2 separate regions of the Homo sapiens genome follow, and region 2 is linked to region 1. The links are contacts of gene promoters, found by promoter capture Hi-C in blood cells and fetal thymus (Javierre and others, 2016). All regions are on one chromosome and are shown on one strand. The core of a region is centred on a gene start or on the middle of the fragment in contact, and the rest is flanking DNA. Distances in the headings are between cores, read along the strand shown. Region 1 holds the start of RBM25 (RNA binding motif protein 25). Region 2 overlaps EIF2S1 (eukaryotic translation initiation factor 2 subunit alpha).

Region 1 (3,270 bases), core at 572-3,071:
AGGCACAAGAATCGCTTGAACTGGGAGGCAGAGATTGCAGTGAGCCAAGATCACGTCACTGCACTCTAGCCTGGGAAACAGAGACACCTCCTCAAAAAACAAAAACAAAACAAAACAAAAAAAGAAACTCATTTTATTTACAAACAATAAATAGCATTATAGAGTAGCACTATAAAAACTATAAATTTGAATAGCACTTTACTGAACAAAGTACAAACATACATAAGTTAATTTCGTCTCCCAAGTAACTGGGACTACAAGCACTCGTCATCACGCACGGCCAAAGGTATTATTAACTTTAGTTAATGGTAAGGAAACCTAGCAAGCAGAAGTATAGAAGGATGTAAATTTTGCAGATGGTAGTAATTAGTGCTACTTTCTCATTTGTGCTCCCACTAAATTTTGTGTTCTATTGGTACTCATCATATGTTAATCATTTCTTTTCTTTTCTTTTCTTTTTTTTTGAGACAATGTCTCACTTTGTTGCCCAGGCTGGAGTGCAGTGGTGCCATCTCGGCTCACTGCAACCTCCGCCTCCAGGGTTCAAGCGATTCTCCTGCCTCAGCCTCCCGAGTAGCTGGGATTACAGGCGCCTGCCACCACGCCTAGTTTATTTTTGTATTTTCAGTAGAGACGGGGTTTTGCCATGTTGGCCAGGGTGGCCTCGAACTCCTAACCTCAGGTGATCCACCCGCCTCGGCCTCCCAAAGTGCTGGGGTTACAGGCGTGAGCCACCGCGCCCGGCCGGTAATCATTTCTGTCACTCAACAAATATTTATTGAGCGCTTGCTATGTACCAGGACCTGTTCTTGCACAAAACAGGCAATCCATGCATTGCTTACATTCACATTCTAGTGGGGGTAGTGACGGACCATAAAATCAGCAAGAAAAATGTATGTTATGATAGATGGTTATGAGTGCTTTAGAGTAAAATTAAGTAGGGGAGGCAGGCAGGAAGTGTGTAGTATGTTTCAATTTTATATTAGGCTGGTCATGGTTTGTCATCTATTTCACCTGGCTCACAGTTCTTGCAGGACAGGAACAAATCTCACTTCCATTTGCCTTCATACTTCCAGCACTTAACACAGCACCAGGAACTCAGGGAGGCAATAACTTTATACTGAATCCGTTTTATGCCTTCCTAGAGGCAAGCAGTTGAGAAAGGCGTGTAACTAGATATTGCCTATAAGGTCCACAATTGGAATAACGTAATCATTTATGATTAATTTTATTCATTTCCATTAACTTAAGCTAAGTTCTTTTAGCACGTTTAGATTACAGAACGAAAGCTGTGTTAACTAGTATTACAGGACTTTTCACGTTTTTCCAAACATCTTCTAGCCACCTCTTTGGCCCTACAACTACGCATAAGCTTTTGCTTTTCAAAAAACCTCCACAGCCTTTGCCAATTATTTGTTGATCTCGAGTAGTTGTTATAACAGCACTTGGGGTTTAACACTAAGGTTGCAGATCGCGCCCAGTTATCAGTTCCTCGAACCTCAAGGAATCACAAAGCAAGGTTCCACCCCCCGAAAAACTACGAAAAGTGAGAAAGCCTCTAACACTCCTCGCGCCGTGCCCAGCCGGAACCTTGACCTCAAGATGGCGTCCCGTAGTCGTAAGATTCAGTCGGCTCCAATCAAACATGGTGGGTCATAATTTACAGTTCGGGCCTTTCTAGTAACCGCTAGACGCTGCTTCTCTATGGTTATTCGTCTCGGCTTGGTGAGTCAGAGCCAACAGCGGAGACGATCTATATACGTTCTTCTCTATGGTTCCGCGCTCCCCGCCCCCGGCCGCAGTGCACGCCGGGCAAGAGGAAGACCTCCATCAGCTCGCCGCGCAGCGCGGCTGTATTTGCGGCCTGTGCGAGTAGGCGCTTGGGCACTCAGTCTCCCTGGCGAGCGACGGGCAGAAATCTCGAACCAGTGGAGCGCACTCGTAACCTGGATCCCAGAAGGTCGCGAAGGCAGTACCGTTTCCTCAGCGGCGGGTGAGTTTGTGTCTCTGAACGCGTGTGGAAACCGGGAGACCGGGTGCCTCAGCTGGTGGAGGAGGAAAAGCCGGGGTGGCTGCGAAAGCGCCAGGGTGGGGTAGAGGTAAGGGGGAGCGCGGAGGCGGGGGTGGGGGAGGGGTCGGCACGAGGCTTGGTTTCTTCTCTTCTCTAAGGCCTGGAAAAGCTGTGGGCCCAGCCGTAGCTGGTGGAGGCCAGACCTACGGCTTGAGCTTTCCGTCTTGCATTGTCGCCCACTTTCCCTTTCCCTTCCACGTTCCGCCGCGGAGTGAATCGTCTCTGCCCCCCCTGGGCTCCACGTTAGATACAAAACGATCGATCTGCCCCAGGGGAGCCCTTCCCTGAGCCCCCTTACTTACCGGAGCCCCACAGTAGGTTTTCGGGCCTGGGACACTCTCGCCCCAGCCGTTGCCTTGAAGTTAGCCTCTACCCACCCTTTTTAGCGAGGTGCTGGCCACCAACGGATATCTTTCCCTTCCTCTTTGGCCATCTAGAGCCCGCCACCAAGTGAACTGGGCCCCACCCCCTTGGAATTGAGCTAATACCTACCTTTTTAGCAGTCTCCTGGCTTGCTTAAGATAGTCATGAATTTTGCCATCCTGCCTCTTTTGCGCATTGGAGGGTGCAGTAAACTGTATATCGCCATTCATTCTAGGCGATTACTAAGCTCCACATTAAAATGTTACTTTCTCATTTTTCTTTGGTCGTCAATCCTGCTTTTAAATACGGTTTTCCGGAATAGACGTAGGACTATGAAGATTTTTCGGAGGTTATGTAATATGGATTTGTATTGCCATGGAAATGCCATTTTGATACTGGGCAGAGTGGAGCCAAGAGAAGGGAAGAGATTGGACCTCTGTTGCACCCTACTGCTGTATTAGTGTGAAGTACTCTGTGTATTAGGCCGTGGGCAGTAATGTATAAATAATTTTTGTATAGTCTTTGGAGCTTTTAATTTTTTTAAAGGCTATTTCCAAAAACATTCAGAGGACTTGAAAGGGATTAAGTTGGTCATAAGTTACTCATGATTCAAGTGAATCTTATAGTATTCTAATTCATTTAACTTAAAGCCTTGGTTTTTCTTTTTCTTTTTTCTTTTAAGCTTTGGTTTTTGTTCCTCTGTAAAATGAATTTATAGTAGTATCTATACGTTATTGGGGTTGGGGATTGAGAAAAACGTATGTAAAATCCTTCGTGCAGTATCCAGGTAACACACATAAGCATTTAAATCTATATTGACATAATTTGTTATTTAA
Region 2 (3,270 bases), core at 370-2,869, 5.7 Mb before region 1:
ATGAGTACTAATAGTTTGCACTTATTGGTGTTATGTACTCTGGCACTGAATATATATTAATGTTGCTTTTTAAGTAAAATGTTTCTAATTATAATATATTTATGAATAGTTTTGAGAGAATATAGTCTTACTGATAAGAGGACAGACTCTGGATCCAGACTTCATGGATTCAAATCCTGACTCATCACCTGTTAGCAGTATGTGAAAGAACAAGTAACTTAACCTGTGCTTCAGTTTTTTAATCTATAAAATGGGGAGAACTAGGGAGAAAGTTGTACCACAAGGAGATAGGCAATGGCCAGATCATATAGGATTCTGTAGGTAGTGGAAAGATACATAAGTCAGTGGGAAGCCACTGAGAAGATATAGGCAGGTGCCAATTAATAAGTTATTATATGAATTTTCACAAGGTTTTCTTAGGCCTTTAAGTTCTGTTACTACCTACGTTTTGAGCAGTGACAACAGTGAAGGTTAACAGAAAAACATGAAAATCATCAGCCATGATTAGTTTGAGAGCTTCCTTTTTTAAATATGCTTCTACCCAGGCTATGATTTCAGGCTTGTGGATCATAAAAGGAGTAGTGCTGAAAGTAGGTTGGGTGGATCAAAGGGAATAATTGTAAATATCTTTAATGCTTGGAGGTTAAGAGAAACTTGAACTTTGTAGTAATGGAGATTAAAGCTATTCTCAAGATTAGGTATACCTATTCAATAAAAGAAAGGAATATTTGGGAGTATTGGGGATAAGAGAAGCTAGACATTGTGAATTCAAGGAAAAAGAATTATGAGAGGAGGATGCATTTTAGTTTATTTTGTGATTAAAATTTTTTTAGTTTTTGTTGTTTTGACATGTGACACTGTAATTTTGGCTATAATAAATGACAGAATGTATCATTTGGTATATTGGTTAGGGTTTAGGTAGAAAATTTTTTCCTTTATATAGTGAGTGGTAGCGTATACAATGTTTGCTCACTTCGGCAAAGAGTAGCTTTAGTTTTCTGATTAGTTATAATAGTGATGCTTCCCATCATTTGATATGCCTTAAAGTAGTATTTTACTCTTGAGGTATTCCTTTAATCCTTAGGTCTTGGAGTACTTTATAGATGGTCATTATTTTTTATGATTCCTCTGAAACTAAAGGCAGAGAATCACCCAAGCATTACAAAAATGTTGAGCAAAATAAAAATTAAAGCTTGGTTCCTGAACATTATCTGTTTTCTGGTACCACTTAAGAAGTTTCAAAGGATGAGAAGACTAAGACTAATAACTATTTTTTTCTTCATCTTTTCTTTCAGTGGCAGGATGTGGAAATTGATTTTTTTTTTATTTTCACCTTAACTGAATACTTACTTAATTCTTTTGTTTAAATTGCAGAATGCCGGGTCTAAGTTGTAGATTTTATCAACACAAATTTCCTGAGGTGGAAGATGTAGTGATGGTGAATGTCAGATCCATTGCTGAAATGGGGGCTTATGTCAGCTTGCTGGAATACAACAACATTGAAGGCATGATTCTTCTTAGTGAATTATCCAGAAGGCGTATCCGTTCTATCAACAAACTCATCCGAATTGGCAGGAATGAGTGTGTGGTTGTCATTAGGGTGGACAAAGAAAAAGGTAAGTGAGAAAAATATCTGTAATATAAATTTCAGATTTAAAATGGTTTATTTAAAAATACATTTTTTGTAAATTGCAAGCTGCAGCTTAAAAAAAAAAGCTCCTTTTATACTTAAACCTTTTACATACAAAGTTGTTAGAAAAGGATGCCAATTAGCTATCTAAGCAAGATCTCTTAATAGTAGTTTAATTAGTACATCCTAGGATTTTATGGATCAGATAACTTGAATTTTATTTCTAGTGTTTATCAGGATCTTGATAATTGACTCATGGTAACCAAACTTAGAGACAGGTAAGTCAGAGTACTAGTTCATTTACATTGGTAGGCCTGAATATGTTGGATGCCTTTTTCTTGATTTAAAGCTAAAATAGTAATGAGATCACTGGGTAAGCATGAAAATGGGGCAAATGGATTTTAGGGATCTTTTATATAAGCTTTGAAAAAGCAATATACTATGCGTGTATATACACACCTGAAATCCAACATTGTATATCTTGCTGGTAATTAGAATGTTTGCATCTACCAGATCTCGTGGTATCTTTCAGACAGTTTTGGATGAGCATTCATTTTTTACTTATTGGATGCCTTTTCTGGGCCCCATGTAAATCATCACCTTTGTGAATACTCTTTTTTTAAACATGGTGTACAATACCATTACGTAGGTTTTAGTTTCAGCCATCTTACTATAATTTGTTAGGTGTTAGTTTTAGGTCATTAGTTACCATCATGTCCGAAAGGCTTCATATCAGTCACCTTGATTCAACTTACCCTTCTGAATCTCCTCAGCCGTCTGGTTTACTGATACTTTCTCACTTCTGCAAGTGATTAATTTTATACATACTGACATTTTAATTTTTTTTATTATAGCCTTAGATGATACATAGATTTTGAGGATGTCTTATGCCTTAGGTAGTGACTGCTACTTAGCACATGGATTGTTTTAAATGTTTTGCTATGACTTAGCTATAGCCCCGCCCAAAATTATTAAACTACTTTGAGACTATTTGTTAAACTTAGGTAAGTCTTCACATCACTGTCCTAGTAGTACCTAAAGTAGTGTCTAATCTTGTACTTTTTTTTTTTTTTTTTAAGAATTGGGGTCTTGCTCTGTCACCCAGGCTGCAGTGTAGTGGTATGATCATAGGTCGCTGCAGCCTTGAACTCCTGTGTTCAAGTGTTCCTCAAGCAGTCCTCCCAAGTAGCTGGAACTACAGGCATGTGCCACCCTGCCCAGCTAACTTTCTTTGTAGAGATGGGGTCTTGCTGTGTTGCCCAGGCTAGTCTTGAACTGGGCTCAAGCGATTCTCCTGCCTTGGCCTCACAAAGTACTGGGATTACAGGTGTGAGCCACTGTGCTCAGCCTTCTTTTTCTATTGTATAAAATATACACAAAAGGAGGAATCAAATATGTTTTTAGTTGCAATCAGAAAAAATATGGAATGGCATACTTGCTTACGTACAGTAGATACATGTAAAGATATTTCCATAGCATTTGTTTGTATGGCATTAACTAAAACCAGGAAATGACCAAAATGGGGACTGGTTAAATAAATCAGTACAAATGCGTGCAATGCAATTTTATGCAGAATGAGATCTGAATATTTTGATATGGAAGATCTCCAGGATAGGATGAGAAAAAGCAAAGTGCAAAAG

What was found. Contacts are between HindIII fragments. The CHiCAGO score rates a contact against its expected background, and 5 or more counts as called.
Region 2: a fragment that was not itself captured here is called in contact with the fragment with the promoter of RBM25 in region 1 in 1 of 17 cell types (total CD8 T cells); the score reaches 5.6 in total CD8 T cells.

What each region holds. Positions count from the first base shown.
Region 1 is chr14:73,056,713-73,059,982 of GRCh38, forward strand. RBM25 (RNA binding motif protein 25) reads left to right here and starts at 1,822. Exons shown (of 19, transcript NM_021239.3): 1 at 1,822-1,993. RBM25-AS1 (RBM25 antisense RNA 1) reads right to left here and starts at 2,741. Exons shown (of 2, transcript NR_184256.1): 1 at 2,564-2,741; 2 at 118-2,045. RefSeq lists enhancers at 1,099-2,063, 1,135-2,334, 1,387-1,926. The HindIII fragment of the contact is 1,744 bases long and covers 1,371-3,114 here.
Region 2 is chr14:67,363,393-67,366,662 of GRCh38, forward strand. EIF2S1 (eukaryotic translation initiation factor 2 subunit alpha) reads left to right here. Exons shown (of 8, transcript NM_004094.5): 2 at 1,375-1,616. The coding sequence starts at 1,376. It also overlaps a transcript of GPHN not described here. Among named protein-coding and RNA genes, the nearest start is that of EIF2S1, 4.7 kb to the left of the region's middle. The HindIII fragment of the contact is 859 bases long and covers 1,191-2,049 here.